4 separate regions of the Homo sapiens genome follow, and regions 1, 2 and 3 are each linked to region 4. Evidence: promoter capture Hi-C in 16 types of primary human blood cells and fetal thymus (Javierre and others, 2016). All regions are on one chromosome and are shown on one strand. Each heading gives the region's core, a stretch centred on a gene start or on the middle of the fragment in contact. The rest is flanking DNA. Distances are from core to core; before and after follow the strand shown. Region 1 has its middle 22 kb from the start of GMNC. Region 2 has its middle 41 kb from the start of GMNC. Region 3 has its middle 62 kb from the start of SNAR-I. Region 4 holds the start of TMEM207 (transmembrane protein 207).

What was found. Contacts are between HindIII fragments. The CHiCAGO score rates a contact against its expected background, and 5 or more counts as called.
Region 1: a fragment that was not itself captured here is called in contact with the fragment with the promoter of TMEM207 in region 4 in 1 of 17 cell types (neutrophils); the score reaches 6.9 in neutrophils.
Region 2: a contact is called between a fragment that was not itself captured here and the fragment with the promoter of TMEM207 in region 4, in 1 of 17 cell types (neutrophils). The highest score is 8.5, in neutrophils.
Region 3: a fragment that was not itself captured here is called in contact with the fragment with the promoter of TMEM207 in region 4 in 1 of 17 cell types (neutrophils); the score reaches 6.0 in neutrophils.

What each region holds. Positions count from the first base shown.
Region 1 is chr3:190,837,223-190,844,360 of GRCh38, forward strand. It overlaps a transcript of GMNC not described here. Among named protein-coding and RNA genes, the nearest start is that of GMNC, 22 kb to the right of the region's middle. The HindIII fragment of the contact is 3,416 bases long and covers 2,009-5,424 here.
Region 2 is chr3:190,818,855-190,825,181 of GRCh38, forward strand. No RefSeq gene overlaps it. Among named protein-coding and RNA genes, the nearest start is that of GMNC, 41 kb to the right of the region's middle. The HindIII fragment of the contact is 2,131 bases long and covers 423-2,553 here.
Region 3 is chr3:190,936,714-190,943,210 of GRCh38, forward strand. No RefSeq gene overlaps it. Among named protein-coding and RNA genes, the nearest start is that of SNAR-I, 62 kb to the left of the region's middle. The HindIII fragment of the contact is 3,626 bases long and covers 1-3,253 here.
Region 4 is chr3:190,446,947-190,454,128 of GRCh38, forward strand. TMEM207 (transmembrane protein 207) reads right to left here and starts at 2,955. Exons shown (of 5, transcript NM_207316.3): 1 at 2,789-2,955; 2 at 844-881. The coding sequence starts at 2,863. The HindIII fragment of the contact is 654 bases long and covers 2,662-3,315 here.

The sequences.
Region 1 (7,138 bases), core at 2,467-4,966, 390 kb after region 4:
CATGAGGTCAGGAGATCGAGACCATGCTGGCTAACACAGTGAAACCCCATCTCTACTAAAAATACAAAAATAAAAATTAGCTGGGCGTGGTGGTGGGCACCTGTAGTCCCAGCTACTTGGGAGGCTGAGGAGGAGAATGGCATGAACCCAGGAGGCAGAGGTTGCAGTGAGTGGAGATCGCGCCACTGCACTCCAGCCTAGGTGAGAGAGTGAGACTCTGTCTCTCTGTCTCAAAAAAATAAATAAAATAAAATAAAATAATTCTTACAGGTTTATCCAGAAAAAAAACAAAGATCAACCAAAATACTGCAAGAGTTGCTCCCAGGTGGGATGAACTTACCACTGAAGCAAGTAGAGCTGAGAAGCTCACAGAGTACATTACCAGGAATATTGTGTTACACCACCTAGAACCTGTTTCATGATGAAGGTACTTACTCCCTCAGATGCCAGGTGTATAGACTCCTGAGCTCTTCCTCAGGAACCGACTTCAGTTTAAGAGAGCTGCCCCCCTCAAGGTTAATCCCACTTCCAAAGTCAAGGTCCAAAGCCTGGCCCTTTGCCTTAATTCTGAAGAGCCATCTCAGTTTCAGAACTCTCCATGGAGTTGGCTGAGGGCTTTGTTTTGACGGTATCATTGATCAATTTTTCTCTTTTCTAAACTTGCCCATATTCCTTTAGATACGCTGTTCCTGAGAGCACGCCTCTGAAAATCTCTTGCATGTATATCTGTCTATCTGAATCATTTTTCCTAAAGAAGATAACTTAGGACACAAGGTCACACAGAATATAAGTGACAACCAGAATTAGAACTCGGACCTACACACTCTCACAACAAAATTCTTTTCTCTACATTATACTGCTAAATTCTCTCAATATGTTTCTCATTTATGCTACTATAGGATGAGATGTGAATTATCTGTTTGCATGTCGTGTCCCAAAGTAGAAATAAACTCCTTGAAGACGATGACATGTATTATGAACATATTTATTTCGTAAGCTGAAAATATTGAGTATCTCATATTAAGAACCCAATTAACATTATATTTAAATAACTACAATGATAGATAAATAATTTTAGCTTATTTGAAAATTATGATTATTATGAATTAATTTCTTTATGGAAATTAGAGGAGTTGTAGACAAGGCCATACTGCCTTTTCTGACTTCCTGCTTTATTACCTCGGCCAGTGCAGGGTATTCATGAAACCCCCTATTCCACTTCCTTCTCATTGCCGCCCTCCATTTATTACCATCTTTATCTTCCTGAAAAATAATTGCAAGTAGGTAAGTCTTGTTCATAAGTCTATATGCATTCCTGTTTTCTAAAGGTGAGTTTAAATGAAGTAATTTTTTTTTCTGGATGAATAGAAGTCTCTGTGTAATTTATTAACACCAAATTTTTCAATTTTATTTACTATTTATTTATTTAATCCACCCTAAATTTCTTCCGTATTATTTTGATCTCACTATTTTTCTTTCATCTCAAATGCTTTTCTAGGTCCCATTATTCAAAATTTTAAGAATCCTTCAGGGTCCAGATCAATTGCTACATTTTCAGTCTTCATATTTTTCTAATGACTACCTCTCCCATGCTAAAAGTAAGCCCTTTCTACGTTAAATCTTCATGCTTCTATTCTTAATTCTCTTCTGGTATGTATCATTTAAAAACGTGTATATTATGCACATTTGTAATTGTCTTATCCTCAATACTCATTTTTTTGTTCCTTTTCCCAGCAATGTGGCCTTGTACATGGTAATCACTAAGTAACTTTTACTGTGTGGATGAGATACAAGTGGATGTTGACAATATATTAGTTGAATGACCAGCCATGGAACTGATTTGTGTTCCTTAAGATATATGGGTCAAATACATTTAATTACAGATGGTAAGCCAAGTAAATATGAGGGGAGACATTAGGGATAGAAAATATTTCAATATTTTTGATTAGTATTGATGTAAAAATCCTCAATAAAATACTGGCAAACTGAATACAGCAGCACATCAAAAAGCTTAGCCACCATGATTAAGTAGGCTTTATCCCTGGGATGCAAGGTTAAACATACACATATCAATAAATGTGATTCACCAAACAGAACTGAAGACAAAAACTACATGATTATCTTAATAAAAAAAGAAAAGGCTTTTGATAAAATTCAACAAACATTCATGTTAATAACTCTCAATAAACTAGGTATTGAAGGATTATACCTCAAAATAATAAGAGCCATATATGACAAACCCACAGCCAATATCATTCCGAATTGGCAAAAGCTGGAAGCATTCCCCAGGAAAACTGACAAAGACAAGGTTGACCTTTCTTGCTACTCCTATTCAATGTAGTGTTGGAAGTTTTGGCCAGGGTAATCAGGCAAGAGAAAGAAATAAAGGACATCCAAATAGGTAGAGAGGAAGTCAAGCTATCCCTGTTTGCATAAAACATGATCCTATAGCTAGAACACCCCATAGACTCAGCCCAAATCTTCTAAATATGATAAATAACTTCAGTAAAGCCTCAGGATACAAAATAAATATGCAAAAATCACTAGCATTTCTATACACCAACGATAATCAAGCCAAGAGCTAAGTCAGAATGACCTCTCATTCACAATTGCTACAAGAAGAACAAAATACCTAGAAATACAGCTAACTAGGGAGGTGAAAGATCACTACAAGGAGAACTACAAACCACTGCTCAAATAAATCAGAGACAACACAAAAAAATGGAAAGAAAAACATTTCTTGCTCATGGATAGGGAAAATCAATATCATTAAAATGGCCGTGCTTCCCAAAGCAATTTAAAGATTCAGTGCTATGCCTATTAAACTACCATTGACATTCTTCAAAGAACTAGAAAAAACTATTTAAAAATTTGTATGAAACCAAAAAAGAGCCCTAGTATTTTTAAACAGGCTACAATGTCATTTTAATGATTAGTGCTAGCTGTAATTTTTGTTACAGATGCCTACTTTTTAGGGGTGTAGAAATCTTAAGACACATTTTTGGTATCATGATATGTATTTTATTTGAATGTAATTAAAAATACAATAGAAAACAATTAGTACTTACTTAAGTGATTTGATACTTGGAATGCAATTTTAGGGACTGATTTCAGCACCTTGGCCAGAGCAATGTGATGGAGGATGTTTTTGTTCACTTTGTGCACCTTGGGTTCAACAGGACAATTATTGCTTCCTCATACCAATAAATATATGTTCAAGAGTGAATCGCCAGAAGGCTGAGACAGAAGAATAGCTTGACCTCGACAGGCGGAGGTTGCAGTAAGCTCAGATGGCATCATTGCACTCCAGCCTGGGCGAAAAGAGCAAAACTTCATCTCAAAAAAAAAAAAAAAACAAACCGAGTGAGTGGCAAAAATATGTAAAACCCAACTATAATCATTTTGTAAATATCCACTAAAGTCTTCAGACAGTTGTTTTACTTTAATAACCATCCTTTTTAAATAACTAATCAACCATAGAGCCTTAGAGCTGAAGAGAACATTAAAAAATTACCTAATCCAAAACTCCTTTCTCCCGTTGCCCAGGGACAAATACCTGTGCTGAAGTAATTTTTTTCCAATTACAAATTTGTCCATAAATTAAAGTTCTTTTTATCATTGCAAATATGCTTATTAAACATGACATTTTCTTATACAATAGGTTATTTAGTAGAAATTTTCAGGAGACCAATGTTCTATTTCTAGGTTTTTCATGTGAATTGGACTAAGTAATACTAAAATTCTGGATCTAAGATTTTTGTATTTCATAAAACGAAACAAAGGGTTGTAATGATACTGATGGTGCTATAGTTGCATGTATATTATTCTTTTATGAAAGCAATGTGATCAAAGTGTGATTAGGACTCACAATCTGTTGAACTCCTTACAAAGGCATACCTTTCATAATTGAAATGACTTAGGATCCTTCCTGAAAAGTGACGTTATTCTCAATGATAATAAACCATAGAAGAAATGTGCCTCTTTGGACTGGATACTTTAATGCTTTCCAGTTTGCATATAAAACTAAGTTATTTTTAGTCTTACTTACATAAGAGTTAAAATGTTTAGGAGGGAATTTCTGAATGGTACATGTTAAAGTGGTACCATTCACGTAGAAATACAACATTAGTGCTAGGATTAAGTAATCTAGTCTATGAAAAAATAAAAGACAGTGGAGTGCCTTTCTTTTCTCTCACTATCATATCCTCCTTCTTTCCCTTATTTCTAGATTTATGTATTAATAATAAATTAAAATACAATATGCACTAGAAATATTGAAAAAAGACAACCACAGAAAGATAAGAAATATGTGTGCTGTAAGCCAAGTTATTTTACTCTTCTTTGTGTTTATTTTCTTTTCTTCTATCTTGGGATGGTCAACAACTTTAAGTTACAATGTATAATAAAATACCACACAATGCAATCATAAAATAATAATAGTTATATATGTTGATATGAAAACATGCATAATGAATTCACATATTCAAAAACTAGTCAGTTCTGTACAACAAATGGCCAGTTTATTTAACAAATCAATGCTGTATAGAAAAGTATTAGATAAGTTTGGCTGTTATAGAATAAAAGAGTGTTACAAAATAAAGGTTTTACTAAGAAGTAAAAAACTATATTAAGGAATTAATATTAATTTTGTTAGATGTGATAAGGGTCTAGTGGTTACTTATAATTGAACATGTATATTACAGTGATTTGGATGAAATGGCATGATATCTTATACCTGTTTTTAAGAACTCAAAATGGTGATCATAATATAGTAGTAGTTCTGAACAGATCAAACAAGATGTGAAAATGTTGATAATTGTTGAAGTACATGGGGCTCATAAAGGATTTTCCCTATTTTTACACGTTTGAAAATTTATACAACAAAAAGAAAAAATCAGCAGTTCCCAAAGTCACTATGCCCATTTCAGTATACTTCTCACCTTTTCTTCTACACATAAATGTGTATTTTAAAAAATACTTCTCATCTTTGCTTCTACACATAAATGTGTATTTTTGCTCTATGTGTATTGCTTTATGTGTTTAGTTTTGTTTTCTAATATGTATCATATAAGCATATGTGATTAAAAATATACCAATGTTTTGTAAAAATAAATGATTTTCTTTCTCCCACAATGCTAAAGGAACAAAAGTCTTATCAGAGATCATATATTGAAGTAAAGAAAATGTCTTATGGGTCCAATATATGTTGATGGTAACAATAATTACAGGGAAAGAGATCAATTCAAGAGCAAAATGATACCATGTTGGAGTCATCATAACTTGACTGGCCACAGATTTCCACTCTCAGAGTCTCTATCCCTTGCTGAACTACCTACTTTCTGATTGCACTTCTCGCAGGAGCTACACTCAATTGATCTATGTGGTTTAGAAAATCTTTTCCAGTTCTCATAATTTGCATTTCCAAGCTTTCTTATTCTACCTTGATGTGTTTCTTTATAGATGATTATAATAGTAGTGATTATAATAATTAACATTTCTGCATCTTACCTAGTATGTGTCAGGACTAGTTCTAAATATTTCAGTGTAACTCATTCAATCATTGTGTCAAAACTTGAGTTAAGCACTATAGTGTTGCCAATATTACAAATGAGGCAAAGTTCTAAAGAGGTTAAATAATCTGCATAAAGCCATGTAACTGTTAAGTAGAAAATTAGCATCTATTCTAATGAGTGTAGATATGAGCCTTTTGGGGGAACTTAACAACTGATTATCTTACATTTGGGTTGAGTCTAGGCATAATAGGAAGTCTGCTTTAACCAGCCTTTGTAAAGTTGAGGACTAAATGCTTCTAAAATCATTCAATATGTCAGCATTCCTCACAATGTTGGTTAAAACAGACTCCAAAGCCTATTGATTAAATTTAAAATCCATGGATAAAAAGATTGGAATAAATATTTTCTTAGTTCTCTCATATTTAATAAGATTAATATTATTTATATGGTAGAAATGCTTTTTTCTTTCATCTTTTATGTATATGCCTTTGTACCTAGACAAGCTGAGCCATCCATCTCTCATGTGGTAGTGGGGTTGAACGTGTTACAGTAGTCATACAATGGAAAAAAATGTTAAAAAAATTCAGCTGTGATGTTGAACACAGTATTACAGATATATAATAATAGTCACATTTCATAGAGATAAAATTATTTCCTAGATGGGGTTGTAGAACTCGACCATAAACAAGCTAGAAGAGAAAAGAGAAAGCAGGTTGTCATATATTTGCTATATTCTCCTCTCTATTTTAGTTAAAGCCTTGGACAGCAGGGGCACCTTAAAAAGAGTAAGATGAGTGGCAATGACATAATGGCACAAAGGTTTCTGCCCTGCTTTCCCTTTATAATTCTGGAAGGAAATTGTGTCCCAGGCTCCCTCCCACACAGCAAACTCCACTCCTTCTCCCTTCACAAAGTTGTATCCTACATTTTTTTATCCACACAAAATTCTTCTCATACGTACACACATAGGTATTCAACCATTGTGTATTATAGACACTGACTGCTTTTTTGCTTCAATCAATTAAGTGTACTTTATTGCATTTCCTACAGCAATGTATAAAAGGACATCTTTCTCCACATTTCTTGATAATGTTTCTCCACATTCCTGTACATTATCATCCTTAATTTTTGCCAATTTGAAAAGTAAGATTTAAAACTTAATAAATAAAAGTCTCAGAATTAATTTAAGTAGTGTATTGTTTTATTCAAAAATAATGAAGAATTAGTACTACATAACTAGGCAATTAATAGAAGGATTTGAATAAATAAGAATCCAGAATGGTTACTTCTTATAGTTTAAATATCATCATTCCATTTAGAAATAAAACGTCTTGAGTATTTGTTGCTTAAAAATGTCTAACACAGTCATATAACGTTTTTTCTCTTTCCACTGCACGTATTTGACAATTCTTTGCTTTAGGAGGATAGAAATTCATCACAGATTCACCACCATGACTTCTGGTAATTACCTTTGCTTATTATGTCTCTTTAGCTTTTCTCCAAATTGTTTTGATTTTGATATTAGCAAAAATATAAATGACAGGGAAAAAATGTCATCCCAAATTCTCTTTTTTTCTATTGCTCCCCACCCCAAACGCTTTTTGTTGTTTATCTAGTTTCTGTTT
Region 2 (6,327 bases), core at 238-2,737, 370 kb after region 4:
GGCTTTAAATTCCTCTAGTGTTACTTTTCATTTAGAATGGAGATGAGTTTTCCAGAGGGTTTTCTTAATATCTATTCTACTCTGAGCTTTGTCTTTTTTTTTTTTTTTGGTCCTGTACTTCAGAGAATGCCTTCATTCATGCTGTTTCCCTCCCTCAATAGTAGACAGCAGTTACTTGTTATCCAACTCTTATTAGCCTGGTTCAGAGGAGGTTTGAAAATATTCTCTGTTTTTAATTTCCCTTAGTTTTAGATAGGCACTGTGTTCCTGGGTCTTATTAGAGGTTCTATCTTCTCAGTGGTTGTACTGCATTATAAATCATAAGTTTGACCTCACTAAGTATTTATGACCTTCTCTGATTAAGAAATAGATTTATTTATTGTGCCGTTATCCAGCTACAACAAGTTTCCACCAATGTCTTAAGCTTAACAGAATATATTATCTTTCTATCAGTGGTGCAAGTATTTTGTTCTATAAGAGATTTAGAGGAGAAGAATCTACGTGGGCTTTGTGCTTTCCATGCAACAGCTGCAATCACCCTTCCCCATATCTGCATCCACCCTTCCCCATATCTGCATCGTATGGAATGATTGATTGCTCATATTCCTTGCCCTACTCCAATCTTTCTTGCTGAGCACCCACCTAGGTCTGTGAACAAGAGCCTGTGAGTCAGTATTAAATTTCTTCACAGGTTTTTTTTGTGTTTTGCTACCTCACACTCAGCCTTTGGCAAATTTATGTTAACGAATTTAGCCAAATTTTTCTCACTATGGCCAGGAAGATTCTGCCTCAGGTGATCTCTGTTGCTGCTTACCTTTTCTTATATTTTTGGTTAGTTGTTTGTCCCAACACATGAACTGTCTGATGCGTTTAAATAAAGTTGGGAATTTGAAAATTGGCCACTTTTTGCTGTTCTTGTGAGTGTAGGAGTAATACCCTTTTAAGCTCTTTACTTCCTTAGCAGAAGCTGGGATTTTTATATAGTTATTTAAAGTGCACATGCAGCATCTATCAACATTGATGATAAACTGGGTCATAAAACAAATCTTACTGAATTTGAAAAGATTGAAATCATATAGAATATGTTCTTTGATCAAAACAGAACTAAGTTATGAAGTAATAGTAACAAAATATCTATAAAAGCACCCAATACTTAGAAATTTAACAACAAAACAACTCACCACCACCAACAATAAAAACACACACAAATAAATGAAATAATAATTTAAACCAAACCATGATAAAAATTTAACACATCGATATTTATGAGGTGCACATAAAGAATGTCAAAGGAAAACTTATAGCATTAAATACTTAGAAAGTAAAAAGTATTAAGGTCATAAAATAAGGTTGCAACTTGGTTATATAAAAACAAGAGCAAACTTACCTGCTTGATCCTGCTGGTAACAAAATAAAATAATTTAAAAAAATAAAATTTAAAAAGAGTAAAAGAACACCAATCAATAAGGAAAAAGGCAGATTTTTTGAAAATATTAATAATATTGATAAATATCTAGAGGGACTGCTCAAGGGGAAAAAAGAAAAAATATTTACTACTAATAAAGAAATGAAAATAAGACATAACTACAGATCTTATAGACGTCGAAAATATAAAAATTTATGAACATGTTTACATGTATAAATTTTACAACTTGGAAACAATGAACAAATTTTCTGAAAAACACAATTTACCCAATCTGACATTATTAGTTTTCTAATTCTGCATTAAAAAATATCCACAAGTGCAGAGGCTTAGAATGAGATTGTCTAACATGTCTGTAGATCACCAGTCCAGGCATACCGCAGCTAGGTTCTCTGCTCATGGTATCACAAGGCGGAAACCAAGGTGTTATCTAGCCGGTGTTCTTATCTGATGCTCAGAGTCCTCTTCCAATTCTTCCAGTTCTGGTAGAATTGAGGATATTAGGTCCTTGAGGTCATTCGGTACTTCCTGAATCTCTACAACATGAAAATTTTCATTTTTTAAATCAACAGGAGAATCTCTCTTTTCAACAAGAGGCAGAATCCCTGTTTTAAGTGCTCTCTGATTAGGCCAGGTCTATCTGCAAGAATCCTGCTTTTGATGAACTCACAGTCATCTGCTTAATTACATAATCATATGATAAAATGCCATCATATGGGATTTTACAAGTCCTGGTATATTCTCTTTGAAAGTGGACTGGGCATAATAAGGTGTTATGAGTAGAAAAGAAAAAGGCAGCTCACGCTAATAATCCCAGCACTTTGAGAAGCCGAGGCTGGTGGATCAGTTGACGTCAGGAATTCAAGACCGTATGGCCAACATGGGGAAACCCCATCTCTACTAAAATAAATAAACAAATATATATTTTTTAATTTGACTACTCATAACACAAGTTCATCCCACATTGAAGGAGAATATACCAGGCATGCACATTAGAAGGAAGGAAACTTGAAGGCTATCTCAGAATTCTTCCTAGCATACTGACCAATAAAAGAATCAAATCTGAATATTTCTGTATTTATTAAATAAATTAAATGCAGAGTTTTTAAAAATTCTATTAATATATTTTAAGCTTAGCCTTACTGGTTGCTATACAAAATATTTAGGAAGAATTAAACTAGTCTTACCTAACTCATTCAGAAGATAAGAAAGAGGGAACAAGTCTAGACTTACTTTATGAAGTTGGAGTAATCTAGATCGAAACTCTACTAAGTACAAAACGAGAAAAAAATTAGACCAATCCTCCTCATGAACATAGACATAAAATTAATCAACAAATTATTAGCAGGTCAAATTCAACAATATCTGAAAGAGACAATACACAATGATCAAGTAGATTTTATCCGAGCAATACAAGTTTGACTTAACATTAAAAATTAGCCAATATAACACAACTTAATGAGCAGTAGAAAGTAACATAATTATCTCATGATGTGCAGAAAAATATTTCAACAAAATTCACATCTTTTCATGGCAGAAATGACCAAGAAATAAGAAATAGAAAGCAGTTTCCTCAATCTAATAAACAGCATCATAACAAAATGAAACTCACATCGTGCATGCATCATATGTAATGGTGAAATGTAGAAATGTTCCCCACTAAATTCAAGTAAAAGAAAAGGATGTCTTTTAAATAGAAGATGTCACAACCTCTGTTTAACTTTTTTCTAGGACTCCTAGGCAGTACAATGAGTCAATAAAAATAAATAAAAGTCATAAATAAATCAAAGTGAGATTTAGTTTAAACAAAACCACCCCAAGTCCTGTTATAGTCAAACTATCAAAAATTAGACAAAGAGTATTCTGAAAGCAGCAAGAGAATGAAGCAAATTTCATATAAGGGAATTCCAATATGACTAACAGCTGAATTCTCAGCAGAAATCTTACAAGCTAGGTGAAAGGGAGATAACACTCAAAATTCTGAAGGAAAAAACTCCCAACAAATAATACTGTACTTGGCAAAACTGTTCTTCAGCAATAAAAGAGAGAAAAAGTTCCAAGACAAAGATGTAGAGAGTATCAACAGCAGGCCTTTTTATAAGAAATGCTGAGGGGAGTTATTCAAGCTGAAAGAAAAGGACACTACAGGTATACCCACAAAATATTGTGGGTTCAGTTTCAGACCACCACAATAAAAGCAAATATTGTAATAAAGTGAGTCACACTGTTCTTTTTTTTTGTTTTTTCAGTGCATATAACAATACTTTTACACTATACTGTAGTCTATTAAGTGTGCAACAGCATTATGTCTATAAGAATAATATGCATATCTTAATTTAAACATAGTTGATCATTTGAGCCCAGGAGTTCTGGGCTGTATTATGCTATGCTGGTTGGGTGTCCACACTAAGTTTAGCATCAATATGGTGATTTCACAAAGCAGAGGACCACCAGGTTGCTTAAGGATGGTTGAGCCAACCCAGGTCAGAAATGCAACAGGATAAAACTTTCATGCTGATTAATATTAGGTCCAGAGATAGCCAGCCCAGAGATTCTGGACAGGCCATCTGATATGGTACTAAGCAGAATTCCTGCTGGAGTCTTTGGGCTGGCTGGCCTGGAGCCTGGGTTAGCAAGTAGGTGAGCCTGAAGCCTGGTTACACTTGGGTGAATGTGTTGATTTGGTCTGCTAGGGTAGGCCTGGAGTCTGTATTCCTAGATCCTCCAGAGCTTCCCTGGTTCTGGGGCAAGACTGAAGCCTGCTGCCACTACAGTTGGTCTAATTATGATCTGAACCTGAACCCCAAGGTTGCTAAGTTGAGTTGGTGAAGGGGCAATCCTGGAAATGCTATGGCAGGTCTAGCATTGTAGCGGGTCCACTAATAGCCTGTGAGTAGCCACTGCACTCTAGCTTGAGCACCACAGTGAAACCCCATCTCTTAAAAAAAAAGAGAAGGAACTATAAAGGATCATAAAGGTCTACAACTGCCTATTGAAAAACATAGGGAATAGGGGGCACCGATCCACTGCACAGTCAAAAATCTATATTTAACTTTTGGCATCCCAAAAACTTAACTACTGATAGCCTATAGCCTACTGTTGATGAGGCACCTTACCAATAGTGTAAACAGTTGATCAGCATGTATTTTATGTGCTATATGTATTATATATTGTATTCTTACAATAAAGTAAGCTATAGAAAAGAAAATATTATTAAGAAAATCATAAGGAGGGTAAAATATATTTACTATTCATTAAGAGGAAGTGTGTCATCATGGAGGTATTTTCCTCTTGTCTTCATGTTGAGTAGGCTGAGGAGGAGAAGGCAAAAAAGAGGTTAATCTTCCTGTCTCAGGGGTGGCAGAGGCAGAAGAGATGGATGAGGTGGAATGAAAGGCAGGCACACTTGGTGTAATATTTATTTTTTAAAGATCCATGTATAAGTGGATCCCCACAGTTCAAACCCATGTTGTTTGAGGGTCAACTGTATTATAAATAATTATATGCTAACAAATTGAATAACATAAAAGAAATGGATAAATCCCCAGATAAATGCAACCTGCCAAGATAAAATCACAAAGAGGTAGACAATCTGAACAGGCCAATAATAAGTAAGGAGATTGAATCAGTAATCAATAGTCTTCAATCAAAGAAAAGCCCAGTACCTGATTGCTTCACTTCTGAATTCCCGCCCCCACCAACTTAAAGAATAATGAATAATGAATACCGATTCTTCTCAAACTCAAAATGGAAGTGCAGAGGAAACTTCTGAACTCATTTTACAAGGCTAGCGTTATCCTGATAGGAGAACCAGTAAAGGACATGACAAAAAAAGAAAACTATTAAATAGTAGACAGTATGCCTAATTAGAGGAGCAAGACTCCTCAAGAAAATATTAGGAAACCAAATTCAACACTGTCCTTCGAACAGAAAAAGAAAAAATATACTTCTCCTTTGTTGCCTTTTTCCATGTTGCTCTCCCCTTTTCTTTATGGTTTTGTGACAACAAGTTATGTCTTAAGTTTCTGTGCATGTGGAATAAAAAGACGCTCACCTAGGATTTAGGAGACCTGTATTCTCTCATCCCCACTTCCTTTCTGCGTAATGATGGTCTTCCCTTTTTTAAAGAGGGAATCTGACCAGACAGAGATATATTCTCACATAATCCTTTTCTACTGTAATTGGTTTCCAATTCAGGCTGCGTTGTTAGTATATCAGGGTTTAGCATACAGGATGTCACCCACATACTGTGGGGTCATATATACTGCTTGAATATATATAAAATAAGCAAAAACAAAAATGAAATCAAATGGATGATTTCTGTGATGATAAATGTACCAGTTTAACTTTAGATGCCATCATGTCATTATATATTTCCCTATCATTCATGTGCAGGTAATATTTTTAATCTATGAGTAATCTATGAATCTATGTAATATTTTTAATCTATAGGTGTTTGACATATTCAATAAGCTTGGTAAAGCAAACAGACTTAGAAGTATATAATCCTAAGGCATGTTTCATATTAGCAGTAACAAAAAAACAGGGCCAAATGTGGTGGCTCATGCCTGTTAGTCTAGCATTTTGGGAGGCCGAAGCAGAAGGAGTGCTGTGCCCAGGTGTTCAAGACCAGTCTGGATAACATAGCGAGACTCTGCCTCTACAAAAAACTAAAAAATGTATATAGCAGAATGTGGTGGCACATGCCTGGAGTTTCAACTACTCAGGAAATCCCTTGAGCCAGAGAGGATGAGGCTGTACTGAACTGTGATTGTGCCACTGAAATCCAGCTTTTGTGACAGAGCAAGACCCTGTCAAAAACAAACAGACAAAACAAAACAAAACAGAAAAAGAGGCTTGGAGCGGTAGGCAACATTAAAAGTAAAAATTAGAAAGTGAATCAA
Region 3 (6,497 bases), core at 191-2,690, 490 kb after region 4:
CCTTCCTATCTCTCTTTCTCCCTTCATTTCCTCCTCTCCCTGTTCCTCCCCACTCCTCCCTTTCCTTCATTCCTTCTTTCTTTCTTTCTCTCTTTATTTCCCTTTTCCTCTGTTGCTTTATTGCAGTGGCTAGAACTTCAGTATTATGTTAAATAAGAATGAAAAGAATAGACATCCTTACCATGTTCTTGATCTTAAGAGGAAAAAATGCCTTCCGTTTTTCACCATAAAGTATGAAATTATCTGTAGATCCCTGAGGGTTTCTATACTGAATAGGGTTTGGATTTTTGACAAATGTTTCTTTTGTATTAACTGGTATGTTCATAGGATTTTAGTGTTTAGCCTGTTGATGTGAGAAATTACATCAATTGATTTTATAATATTGAACCAGTCTTACATACTGCTTTGCAGAGTTACATAGTTCTTCCCATGCGTTGCTAAGTTCAGTTTGCCAATATTTTATTGGGGACTTGTGTGTCTGAGTTCATGAGAGACACCAGTCTTTTTTATTTTCTTTTAACTGTTTGTCTTCTTTTGGTGACAGAGAAATATTGGGAGAAAATACATAAAATTGGTATTGGATTTCAAAATGTTTGCCAGAATTCTTCAGTAAAACTATCGAATTGGGAATTTCTTTTTTGGGTGCTTTTTAATCACACATTTATTTTGTAGAAGGTGTTCAAATTATCTGTTTCATTTTTAGTGAGATTTGGTAGTTTGTGATTTTCAAAAAATTGGTCCATTTGTTGTAAGTTGTTGAGTTTATCAGCATAAAGTTGCTCAAAGTAATGCCTTATAATTGTTTCAATGACTACAGGGTGATAGTCCCTATTTTATTCTTGATATTAGTGATTTGTGTCCTTTCTCTTTTTACTTCCGTCAGTGTTACTAGAGATTTACCAACTTCGTTGACTCGTTTTGAAGAACTAGGGATTTGTTTCATTGATTTTTTTTTTCTATTTTTATAGTTTCAATTTCATTGATTTTTCTCTTTTCTCTGTTATTTTTATTGATAGAGGGCTGTGCTGAAATCCCCACTCGAATGGTGGAATTGCCTGTCTCTGTTCTGTCAGCTTGTGCTTCATATATTTTGATGTTCTCTAGTTTGGTACATACACATGTAGAATTGTTACGTCTTCCCAGTGAATTGGTCACTTTGCAAATATGTGATGTCCCTAGTAGTATCTCTAGTAATGTTTTCTTTTCTCTGAAATCTACTTTGTCTGATGTTAATTCAGCTACTCTGCTTTTTTTTAAAAAAAAAAATAATGTTTGTATGGTGTATCTTTTTCAAACTTTTACTTCCAATCTACATATGTTGTTGATTTTAAAGTGAGTTTCTTGTAAATAGAGTATAATTGGATTTTTTGTTTGTTTTGCTCACTTTAGCTGCCAACCTGTCTTTTGATTAATCTATTTAGACTCTACATTTAGGGTAATTATTAATATGTTAGAGCTTAAGTCTGTCAATTTATTATTTTTCTTTGCTTACTTGCTCTGGCTTTGTTTCTCGTTTTTGCCTTCCTGCGGGTTACATGAACACATTGTATGGCTCCATACATGCACTGATTTGTGATAATGTATTTGAGTATATCTCTTTCTACAATTTTTGTTTTGGTTGCACTAGGAACTATGATATACGTATGTAATTTATCACAGCCTACAGACATCAACATTTAACCACTTTAGGTGAAGTGTGGAAACCTCATATCAGGCTGCTTTCAACATTTTTTTCTTTGTCTTTAGTTTTCAGAAGATTAATTATGATTAGTGTTAGCATGAATTTCTTTGGATTTATCTTGTTTAGAATTTTATTCATCTTCATGAATCTGTAGGTTTGTGTGTTTTTGCCAAATTTGGGAAGTTGTCAGCTGTTATTTCTTTGAATAGGCTTTTAGGCCCACTCTATTTTTCCTCTTCTTCAGAAACTTTAATGTTACAAAGCTGTATCTTTTAATATTGTCACAAGTTTTTGAGGCCGTTATATTTATTTTTCATTCTATTTTCTCTCTTTTGTCCAAATTGGATAAATTCTATTGATCAATCAAGTTTAGTTATTTTATCCTCTATTGATCTATCAAGTTTAGTTATTTTATCAGCGGATAAACTAGCCATTGGCTCTCTATGGTAATGAGTCCATCGAGTGAGTTTTATAATGCTATTACTGTATTCTTTTAGGTCTGTGTTTTCCATTTTTTAAAATAACTTCTATTTATTTGCTGAAATTTTATATTTTTTGCTTCAAGATAATATGTAATTCATTGTTTAAGCATTGTTACCATCACTGATTAAAACTTCTTGCCCTAAAATTTCAACATCTAATTGATTTTGGTGCTGGTGCCAGTGATTGTCTTTTTCTCATCAAGATGTAATATTCTTGGTTCTTGGGCTAACTGGATGATTTTCAATTGTATACTTGATATTTTGTATTTTATATTAGGAGACTTCGGGTCTTCTAAAATCTCTTATTCTAGAAGACAGCCCCTCTGTTTAGGTTTAGCTAGATCCTGGCATACTTTTGTGGGTTGCTATTTCTCTGACAGTTTAACTTTCAGATCTTTGCAGTGTTATTTTGGTCTGCTCGATTTACACGGTACTGCTGGGGCCCCCATGGGTCCCTGCAGTTCTTGCCTGAAGAAGGCAGAAGAAGTTTCCACAACTGGTGCTATAAGGTGTTTCTCAATCAAGGAAAGAAGTCTCTAGCTCTCTGGGATCAGTTGACTTCCTTGGACAGGAGTTTCATTTTGGTGGGGTTTTCTTTTTGTGGGGGACGGAGAACACTGTTATGGTGAGATTTCCACCTACCCATCTACTTTCAGAACCTTAGGACCAAAATGTCTTCCTAGGTTTAACTCCTTAACCTAGCAGCAGTTGCTGCTGCCCAGCTGACCACGTAATAATTCTCATTGGGAGAGGTGGTCTTATGCCCACAGGGATATAATAATCTTCCCTGTTGTGCTGCTTATTGTGACAGCACCCCTTTTGCTGTTGCTGCCCAGCTGTCCCGTGTCTCTTGGTGGAAAAGGAGTCTCAGGCTTACATGGAAGAAGAATCTGCTTTCTCTGGCTGCTGATTGCAGTTGGGACTCCCAGCTGATTTACCTTGCTTGTGGTGCCGTGCTCTCCTGGTACTGTTAGTGAACTCTTGTTCAGTCAGGGGTAGGGGGAATGAGCCAACCTGGCTTCCCTTCTGTCGCTTCACTAGGGCTGGGAAACTCTAAGGTCGATGACTTCTGCTGAGTGTGGGGATCATAAGCTTTCTTGCCATTAAGTTTTTCTGCCAGTCCTTGGGTCCCAAATCATTTGGGCTTTCTTTTATCCCCTTTCAGCACTGTTTTTTGTTGTCTCTTGCATTATTGCCAGGGTTTATAGCTGTACTTATTGGGGAAGAGTAGGTGCATGCAATCTGCTCCAGACCAGAAGTTGTGGATTATTTTTGAAAACCAAGATTGATTAAAAATAATATATAGTCAACTTCAAATTTTAACCCAGAGTCTCCTGTTACCAATTTAATACAATGATCATATATAAATTACAATAAATACTGAGCTGAGTAAATTTTCACTGGGATCACTGTCCGTAATACTAGCCATGCTCTGTCCTTCATAAGTTTTAGCATTTTGTTTTTCCTCTCACTAATTTATTCATTTGTTCTGAATAACGGGCAAGTGTAATAACTCCTCATGTTATAATAGGAGGACACAAAAGTCTCCTCTATTCTTAGTTGCTCCCATTCAGTCATTCAATAATTAAATATTTATATTTTAATTAATACCAGATTATAGTAGACAGTGGTATAAAAAGCCAATTAAGATTCACTTCCTGTCTTTAAAAAAATTAAAAATAAAGACTAATACTAAAATAGCAGAATAATATAATACATTTTACATTTCACTAATAGCAGAATAGTATAATACATTTTCATTAGGCAGAATGCATGATTTATTTGAAATCCATTCCTATTTTTTTAAAATACTATGTACTTGGGCAAAAACCTACTTTTAAAGGCACACACACATACAAACATGTAGGCAAACAAATAAACATCATGCAACATATAGTATAGGCAAAACCATATATAATATAACAAATATAATGCTATTATAATATTGTTTTTACCAACAAAAATGAATGGCAAACTAACATTAATATTACTTACACAAAGCCTTAATAACCAGCAAATTCCAATTTAAGAAAAAACCTGAGAAAAATAAAGACTTTAACAGATCATATTTCCATGTGCAAAGTATTCAAGCTGATAAGATATTTTTATAATAGTCCAGAATTTTTATTCATTTTTAAAATTCAGGGGAGTCTAAATGTAAAGGAAATGAGAGATTTAATGAAGGCAAGATAACTATTAGAAATAATTAAATTACTTATTCCATTTCTAAATTATCTCCTTCATATAAACCACCAAAATGATTAAGTATTGTCTTAGTTTGTACAGGAGTATTATTTTGTCAACAGGTTGAAAAAGTTATGCCTCTTGCTGAGAAAAAAAACTAACAAAATTAAACATTTTTTGATTGCTTATTCATTCCAAAACCAGTTTCAATTATTCTATCTATAAAAATCAATGACAGAATATTTTTAGGGACAGAAATCAAGATGAATATTGATATATTTCTAAACATTGGGACTTGTTAACATGATGATATACTGATAATTTACTAATGAAAAATGATTGTTAGTATTTTATTTGGAATGAAGAATCCTTGATATCCTCTGCTTTTGAGTTTCAAAGAGCAATATCTAACAATGGTATTTTACAATTAACAATGATGTTTTAGGTTACTCTTTAGTGCAATTTACAATGTACTTTCTCAACAGGTATTTTAGAGGGAATTAAGGCACAACAAAGAACTTGCCCAAAGTCACAATGAACCCACACTAGAAAACTTACAGTCTGTGGTCTTCATTTTACATTTTTTTTTGACAGCATTTACTTTCTATATTTAAAAATAAATATAGGTGTTTAAATACATTTCAAAAAATATGTCAAAATAATTCACATTTCTTTTAATTCTAGAAATATTTTGAAACCTTAACAATGGATATATTCAGTAATTATTGTAAATAGAAATATGAGTTAGGAATTTAATCATTTGACTTTCTAATTGAGGCGAATGGCAGTGGCTAACAACACCGGAGTAGCACTGAATGCAGTAATTCATTCCCTTCACACAAATAGCTACTGAAAGGCAGATGGAGGTGCCAGTTGTGTCGGGTGCAGGTGATTACTGCCCAGCCTGGACGCCACCAGGTTGTTTTTCTCTCCACCAGAAAACTGTCCATTCACTTTCCTAAGTGCCAAAAGCAAAAGGAGAGGAATTTATGAAGTCCCTAGCCCATATGGCTGGTAGTGAATTAATCTGTGTCTGAGCAGCAGGTAGCACGAGCCAGTCTGTCTGTTGGGGCTGTTAGTAACCCAGGGGCAGATCAGAGAACAGCAGGAGAGAGGATCAACTCAGGCTGCAAATACAGTCAGGAATGTGGCAGGAAATTATTTCTGAAAACACACTTTGCAGCATAAGGGCAGCCATCAGATGCTACATGATAATCTATCTGCACTTTGTACACTCATAATTATATAGAGCTATATAAGTAGGTGTGAATTTAAAATGTAGTTGTAGATATATAGCTATCATGAGATTTTCCTTTATATAGCATCTTGCGTTAAAATAATTATTTCAAGAGTACCTCAAAAATAAAATACGCAGGCAGAGAGATTTTAAAATTATGAAAAAGAGAAATTAGAATATTAGAAAAAGGGTATGGATCTATTCGAAAGTAGAATAGCAAAGATGAGTGCTCCGATACATAAACAAGAGAAAATAGGGGCTATATAACAGTTCTTTGATGAAATAGCAAGATAGGAAGAAAACAATGGAAAATAATTTAATAATTGCTTGAATACATTAAGACAAAGCTGAGACATGGGACAATTAGGTACAGAACCTTAAATAAGAAATCATGCAAATGGTCAGATGATGATTGGACAATGGTTATTAATATCTTCCTTCCTTTTATTATCTCTTCCTCCCTCCTTCTTATTTCCCTTTTTCCTCCTTCCTATCTCTATCTTATCTGTCTATCTATAGTAATGTGAAGTCTAACATTAAGATTTCACATATTCTTGTGTTCACAGGGCTAAAACTAAGACATTTGCAAAACTGAACTAGACCAAGGAATCTGTGTACATGTAGTCTTTTTGTTTCTTAACCATAAAAATAAAGCCACTAATTTCCCTAAACGTATATGAAAAAATCCAGAACACTGTTGTCATTTTTTAATATTAAAAAGGAAGATCAAAGAGTTAAAAAACTCAAAAGGAAAGAGAAAGCTGAATTAAAGTGACCCTACTCCTTTTGAAAAGACCATCTCTCTGAATTAGACGATTAAAAATTCTTTATAGTAACTTCAAATTATCTTTACTAGCATTCCTGTTTTAATGGATGATTGTAGGAATTAGAGCCAGGTTTAGAAGGTAGGCCT
Region 4 (7,182 bases), core at 1,705-4,204:
TAAAGAAATAGCAATCGAGAGCCATGCAAAAGCTGAAAGAGCAGCACAAATTTAATAAGCAGATTGTTAACAATAAGAAGATCCACCAGAAGCAGGTGAATGGTCCCAATTTCTGCTGTGAAATACAGTCATAGCCTCCTGCTATACAGAGAGCATGGCTTTGAGTGTAACAGGCAATGAAGACTGAAAACAGCTGCTAACAGTAAGGGCTGCAAGCAGGAGAAGATAGTGCTGGGTGGAAGTGCTTTTCTGATACTAAATCACAATGAATTACAGATATTAATTATCAGTATCATTATTAATGGCACCTTCTCTTCATCTCCTGAATAGAATTCTGAGAACCATTAAGTCTATCGCACAAAAAGTGAAAAAATTGAGTCAATTGTTCACATAATTCATATCACAAGCACTTTGAAATAGACACACAGTACAGGTTAGAATTTTGGTCAGTTTGCTTGTATTTTAAACTGAGTTATACAGAAAACTGCCTCCCTTGGTCACTGTGATTTTTGAGTGTGGATGAAGCCATAGATGACATCATGATTCTTTTATGAACTTAAAGTACCCTTGAAACCTTAAGGAAGATAAATTCAGTGTGCAAAAATATCTAGAAATCAACTAGGCCTCTTATTTATTTAACAAAGCTGATCGTAATGAAAATTATCTTTCCTGTTTTCAGAAAAAAAAATGGAGCCATCTGCATTTACAAACCATTTACTTTTCTTCTGATTATAATGATCATTTGAAACTCAACTGGGCTTTTTCTAATGGCTTGAGCCTTTTTTATACTTTGAATTTTTTAAATGCGAAATAAAAACATGGAGTTTTTCGCTGTTTACTTACATTTCATCTTCTTCGCATGGTAGGTCCGAGAGCACCAACTGAAACACATGTTTAGAACAATAAAATCCAAACATCTCATCAGTCTAATCCTTTAATACAAGCAGCGCCTAGAGACAATGTGGGTTTATATCATTTCGTTTGCTTTTTTAATTAAAAGCTCTATAGCAGAGTTTATTGTTGGTACACAGAATTTTAATTGAAAAAATCTCTGGGTGGATTCTTAAGCTCAGCAGTGGCAGAAGATATATATTGTGAACCAGATTCCATTTCTACATACCAATATAAATGGATTTTACGACAATTTTTGTTTTTTCTATATGCAGATTTTGCTTGCTCTAAAGAGCTTTTGTGCACTTTGCATTTTTTGTTTTCATGTTGTAGCTAGAGGTCAGAGGTTCATTATTAGTGAGTATTATTTTCACGCAAAAAAAAACAAGTTCCAAGTACATACATGGAAACAGAAGTCAAGCCTATTAGCATTAATGGGCATTAAATATATATTCATGAAAGGGCGACTTTAACCTGCTCTAAGGGTAAGGTCCATTTAAGATCACATGACATTCCAGTTGAGATTTACAGTCTTCTCTTTATCAGAGAAGAGAAAAAAAGTAATCATCTTTGTTGCTTTGTTTGAAAAGTCCAATACTATAAGCATTCTAAAATAATGCTCTTAGTTATCTGCACTGAGTGTCATAGGTTACAACATCTCATATACTAAATCACAAGGAAAAAGGCACTTCTTTCTAAAGATCTTATTATCTATTTGCTTGCTTGACCCTTTGAACCAGGACTCCTTCCTTGTACAAGGAGAAAGTCTTTAAACGGCATTTATGTGTAGCTCTGAACACTTAGTTGATGAAGTCAGTTGAAGTATTTATTTTCCTGGACTATAACACGCAAATAAAAGTACAAGTAAGAAGTTACAAAATTTAAAGTGATAGACTTGGGAGTTCTGTGTGAGATGTGTCTTTTCCCCCCTTAATCCCAAAAGCATCTTCTTCAGCACCTTGTATTTACTCCACCAAGTTTATCTGGGCAAAGAGATTTGTGGAGTTGCAGATGGAGCCATGAATTGGCCATCAGAGAGCATGGTAATGAACAATTTATAAGCACAGAAAATGAGTTGCATTCTTTTTTGCTAGAATGCTGCAAATAGATTTGCATACTAAGTGAAAGGAAAATGAACATTCACATTTTGTCCATAAAGAAAGTTTATTTATGAGTAGATGAAATCGTTTGGGATCCAGCTTAACAGATAAACAAATAAAACCAGTATTTCACTTTCAAGTCACTTCCGTGTTTTTTCTGTGTGTTGTACCCTAGCAATAGTACACAGTATTAAATTATTAGCACCTCACTGCCAACACATTAGCTGTCAAACTTCCAGTTATTATGAAGAGGTAAGGAAAGCTATAATTTACTTTAGATCTAAATCTTTCAGATACCTTGCATTGAAGTCACACAGATCTAGAGATGCACGTGTTAGTCAGAAGGGGATGCTGGAGCAGAGGAACTGAAATAAATCCTAAAATGGTTCTGTCTACATCAGTCAGCATTGAAAAACTGTCAAGCATCAAGTATGGTTGTAGGCAATAGTAAACATGTCTTAAATTAATCTAGCCATAGCATTTTGTTCTGTGTCAATAGCATTTTGAATTTAAAAAATTACAGCATAGCAAAGTTAAACAAAGGTTAAATTTGCAATCACGTTATTTCAGTAGCAATAGAACTAATTGAAGGAGAAATAAGACTAATGCCTTGGACATTTTGTTTTGTCCCTCTGACCAGTGAATACAAGAAATCATAAGATGCTAGTAAAGCTTGAAGGAAATCTTTTAAATGTAGAAGCAGTTAAGTTGCTCACATATAAATCTATAGCAAATCAAGTCCTCAGAGTACCTCAGAGTACCTCTGAAAACCTTAACCCAGAAAGAGAGATAGTTACCTGGAATAGCGGCAAACACAAGATCCCTATCGTTGAGATCGCTGAGGTGACACTGAAAAGTCTGGATCTTGACATATTTAAAGGACAGTCAACTTAGGATAGTGGTTTGGTGCCTGTGTTTATTTCCTTCTTTCTCAGAACTTACTAGCTTCTCTATAAGTTATGCTTCCTACCAGGACATGCATTAATAATGGCTCCTTGTGACTCGTAAAGTGCATGCTAGGGGAAGGAATGTTGGGTACATGTTTACAGGTACTAAGAGCCCAAGGAATTTAAGTTTAAGGTGAGAACTTTAGCACTGTTTGTCAAGGCCTTTAAAAGTAGGGGTTATAAATGCTGACCTACAGAGCTAGCTGGCTACTTAATAACTTTCCACATTCAAGTGCATGTTTTATTCCAGGGAACTTCTGGGTTTCTAATAGTATTTCATATTTGGAACATTTATTCAATTTTCTTCCCTTTGTTGGTACTCTTTGTTCTCCTACACACCATTTTCAGTTCCAGGTCTAACCCAAACTTAGGCATAAAGCTTTCCTTGTTTTATTGTGATAATACCCCTCTTTTAAACAAGGTATATTTCAATGTTTATTTTATGAAACAACTCCATCACTACCACTGAAAAATAAAGCAAGAATATCTAGGGAAATTCTGAGAAAAAGAAAAGGCACTAACCTATTGTACATTAAGATGTCTTAATCTATGCATTTTACAAAAATTAGTACTGATATGTGTAAATAATAAGGTAAATGTAAAAGAGTAGAGAGTTTAGAAATGGAGAGTTTAGACTCAAATAAACAAATTTATTTAAGCTTCCATTTGAAACTAGTGGAGAGAAGATGGATATCTTTCAGGGTATAATGAAGAGCTAAATGGTTATGTGGAAAGAATGTAACAAATGATTGTTAAGATGCTTAACCTCAGTCATAATTAGATAAACATACCTTAGAATTATAATCAGATTGGCAAGTTCAAAAAATTGATAATATAGGGAAGAGGGATAAATACTGGGAAACAAATACTCTCATATACGGTTGGGAAAACTGTACAGCTTATTTGGAAAACAAGTAGGCAATATACATCAACATAAAAAATAAATATGCCCTTAGAGCAAGAATTCTCCTTGCAAGATACATGAATGTACCCCTTACACATGGCACAAATTACTATATGCAATGATGTTCATCGAAGCATTGTTGGTGTTAACAAAATATTGGAAACAGCAAATATTCATGAAAATGTGACAGACTAAGTACAAAATGGTTATATAAATTCAACAGAATACTAGGAATCTGTTTTAAAAGGTGGAGACAGATCACAGATGCTGATATAGAGAGGTCTGTAATAGTTATTGAATAAAAGGAACAAAAATCACAGAACTTTGTGTACATCATGTCACATTTGTATGCAAAAATAGGAAGGTAGAGCTATAGTATTCTCTCCGTACACAAAACTTATGCATATATACTTATATATGCATAGGATGTCTCTGCATGAAACTGCTAACAGTGGTTGCTCTGTGAAAGGGAAATTGCAAACTAAGAAGACCAGAGTGGGAAGGAAATTTACTTTTCACTGTTACTTCCTTGTATTTTTGATATTTTTTACAATGTCTATATGTCATCTAATTATTTTTTACATATATTCACTTCTAAGAGCCAATTTTGAAGGCAATGATCCACAATGCAGAATGAGAATATCGTAATTCAAGCTCCAGTGTAGTTCACCACATCCAATTCAAATTGTAATGTATGAACCCATTTACAATCACACACATAGATTGCTCTAGAAACAAACCAGCAGTATTAGGTATCTAAACTACTGCACAGAGTTGGCCATCGCGGTATATGGACTAGTTGAGCTGCATCTGGATGGGTGAAGCCGTCTGTGTGGTGACTACGCTCTGTTTAGTATGCAGCCACGGTCGCAGCCATGAATTTCAAAGCAGAGGAAGGCTTGGTGCCAATGCCAATAGGAGAAAAGTAAACCAAACCTACAGTATTATTTATCCCCCAGATACGCTCCATTTTGAGTGTCTCTGAAGCCTGTAATTAAACAGAATGAAAAATAGGCTTTTCACTGGTGAACTTATTTATTAGGCAGTCAGAAGCCTGACTTCCGTCGGTGGAGTCAATGATCTTAAGAATTTCTGGGAAAGGAAGAGGCCAGATGACTAGAGAAGAGACAGAATGGAAATAAGGGCAGCATATTTGGTTTTGCCTCAGAAACTGCAATAATGACCAACTACATACATGGATTAAGTAATTATTGTCAAAAAAAATGCATGATTCTGCAGCAGCTGCCTGATTAGGAGTATGGCAGCTGAATGGAGATGGAGTCTATAGTCACAATAGTAATGCAAACACAGCAATTATATTTGGTGCTAAAATCAAAATTTATATTCATTTCCACCTTGCCATTTATCCATTTACTTCTGTGACTTTCCCATGCCACTTCCAACGTCCAGCATAACAGTTTCTAAGACAGTAGTTTTTCTAGTACATTTCCTTCCTAGCATCATGAGAGTTTGGTGGTTGTGGAATACAAAATCTGACCATGAGTGCAATTTTACCTGCAAAATTTTTTTAATAGATACTTAAAATTAAAATAGCTTATTTTGTGATAAATTTAAATTCACAGGCAGTCTTAAGAACTACTACAGAGATCCCATATACTCTTCATTTAGCTTACCCCAGTGGTAGCATCTTACATAACTGTTATACATTATCACAACCAGAAAATTGACATGGAGGCAATCCACCATCGGCATGATTTTAAAAAAATTTATATGTACATAACAGTCGTTCATATTTATAGGGTACATGTGATATTTTATCACTTAAAATGTGTGATCAATTTTGTAAGTCCAACTACATCCTTATGTGCATGAACTTGTGGTAGTGAATTGTCATCACTGGAAAGTCAAGCTGAAGATGGTTGACTGCTATACATAGCAATATGGTCTCTTAGATCACTAAGATTCTAGGGACTTTTTATGTTTGATTATAAAAATAGAAGTAGGCAAAACTTGAAAAGAATCTGTAGAAGAAGAAAGAGGACATGCACTGTGATAGTGTATAAAATTCACCCAGTACTTGGATGGTGGACCTTTTATCTACATCTTTGTTACAAAAGAATGGACACACATATATTCAACTTCACAATTCTGGTTATTCACCTATCTCTTTTCTTTGTGAGAAGAGATTAATCCTTCCGAAATGGCTGGAGTTCAGGAAATATGAAAACTATCCTCTGGATTTGGAGCCTGACATAAGTCAAAATTCCCTGAAGCTCTGAAGTCATATCAATATTTGTCTTTAAAGGTCATGGCATGCAGCTCTTCGAAAGGATTGAGGACCAAAATTCAAGGAATTAAGCGAGAATAAATAAAAGGTATGAATAAAAGTGGGCATGCATAAAGGAAGGTCCAAAGAGCAAGCAAGGGATCACCAGCTACTCTCTTTATCAAAATTAAAGGCACAAGTTAAGGTTCTAGGAGTTAGGAAGCCTTGGTCACTAATAATCAGCAGTATGACAATAAACAGTTATTTATAAAAACTGCATTTTCTAAAATAATGATAATAATATTGAATTATCTTTCTCTAATAATTTCATTAAAGATCACATTGAAAATATCAACATGAAATCAGATATAGCACAGATGTAAGATGTTGATTACTGGAGCATAAAACACAACAAAATACAATAAAATAAACGAGAATTTCAAAATTAATTCAGAGATCCATGGAAACAATAGGAGTTGAAGTAATATAAGGAGGACATAAAATGAGGCAGCAAGCTGTCGGAGTCTCTAGTTTCTCCATTTGCTTCTTCTCCCTAGTGAAAGGAAATATTGATTACATTGCCAAATCCATGGTGAACTTTTAGTCATCTTACTTTAAGTAATGGACAACATTTGACACAGTTAATCACTTCTTGCTCCTTTACCTTCCTCACTTGGCTTCCAGAATGATATCGTTTTTGATTTGCCTCCCAGTTTGCTGACCATTTCTATTCAATTCTCTAGACCTGCCATGTTAGGAATTCCCTAAGACTCAGTTCTCAGACCTCTTTCTCTTCTGTATATATCCACTTTCTCAAGAATCTCAGTCAGTTTTACAGATTATCATCCATAAAGTGACAACTCTGAGATTTGTATCTTCAATCCAGATATTTCCCCTGAACTCATGAGATTAACTGTCAACTCCATGTCAGTTGGCTGGGGAGGAGATTGTTACGATATTTAATATAGCAGCTGAGGAAAACATTACTGAGAATGTGGCATTTCAGCAATGACCTTAAGGAAGTGAGGAAGTAAGCCACGTGGAAAATGTGGGAGGTGCATTTCAGACAAAGGAAAGATCAAATGCAAAGCTCCCTGAGACAGAAGAATGCCT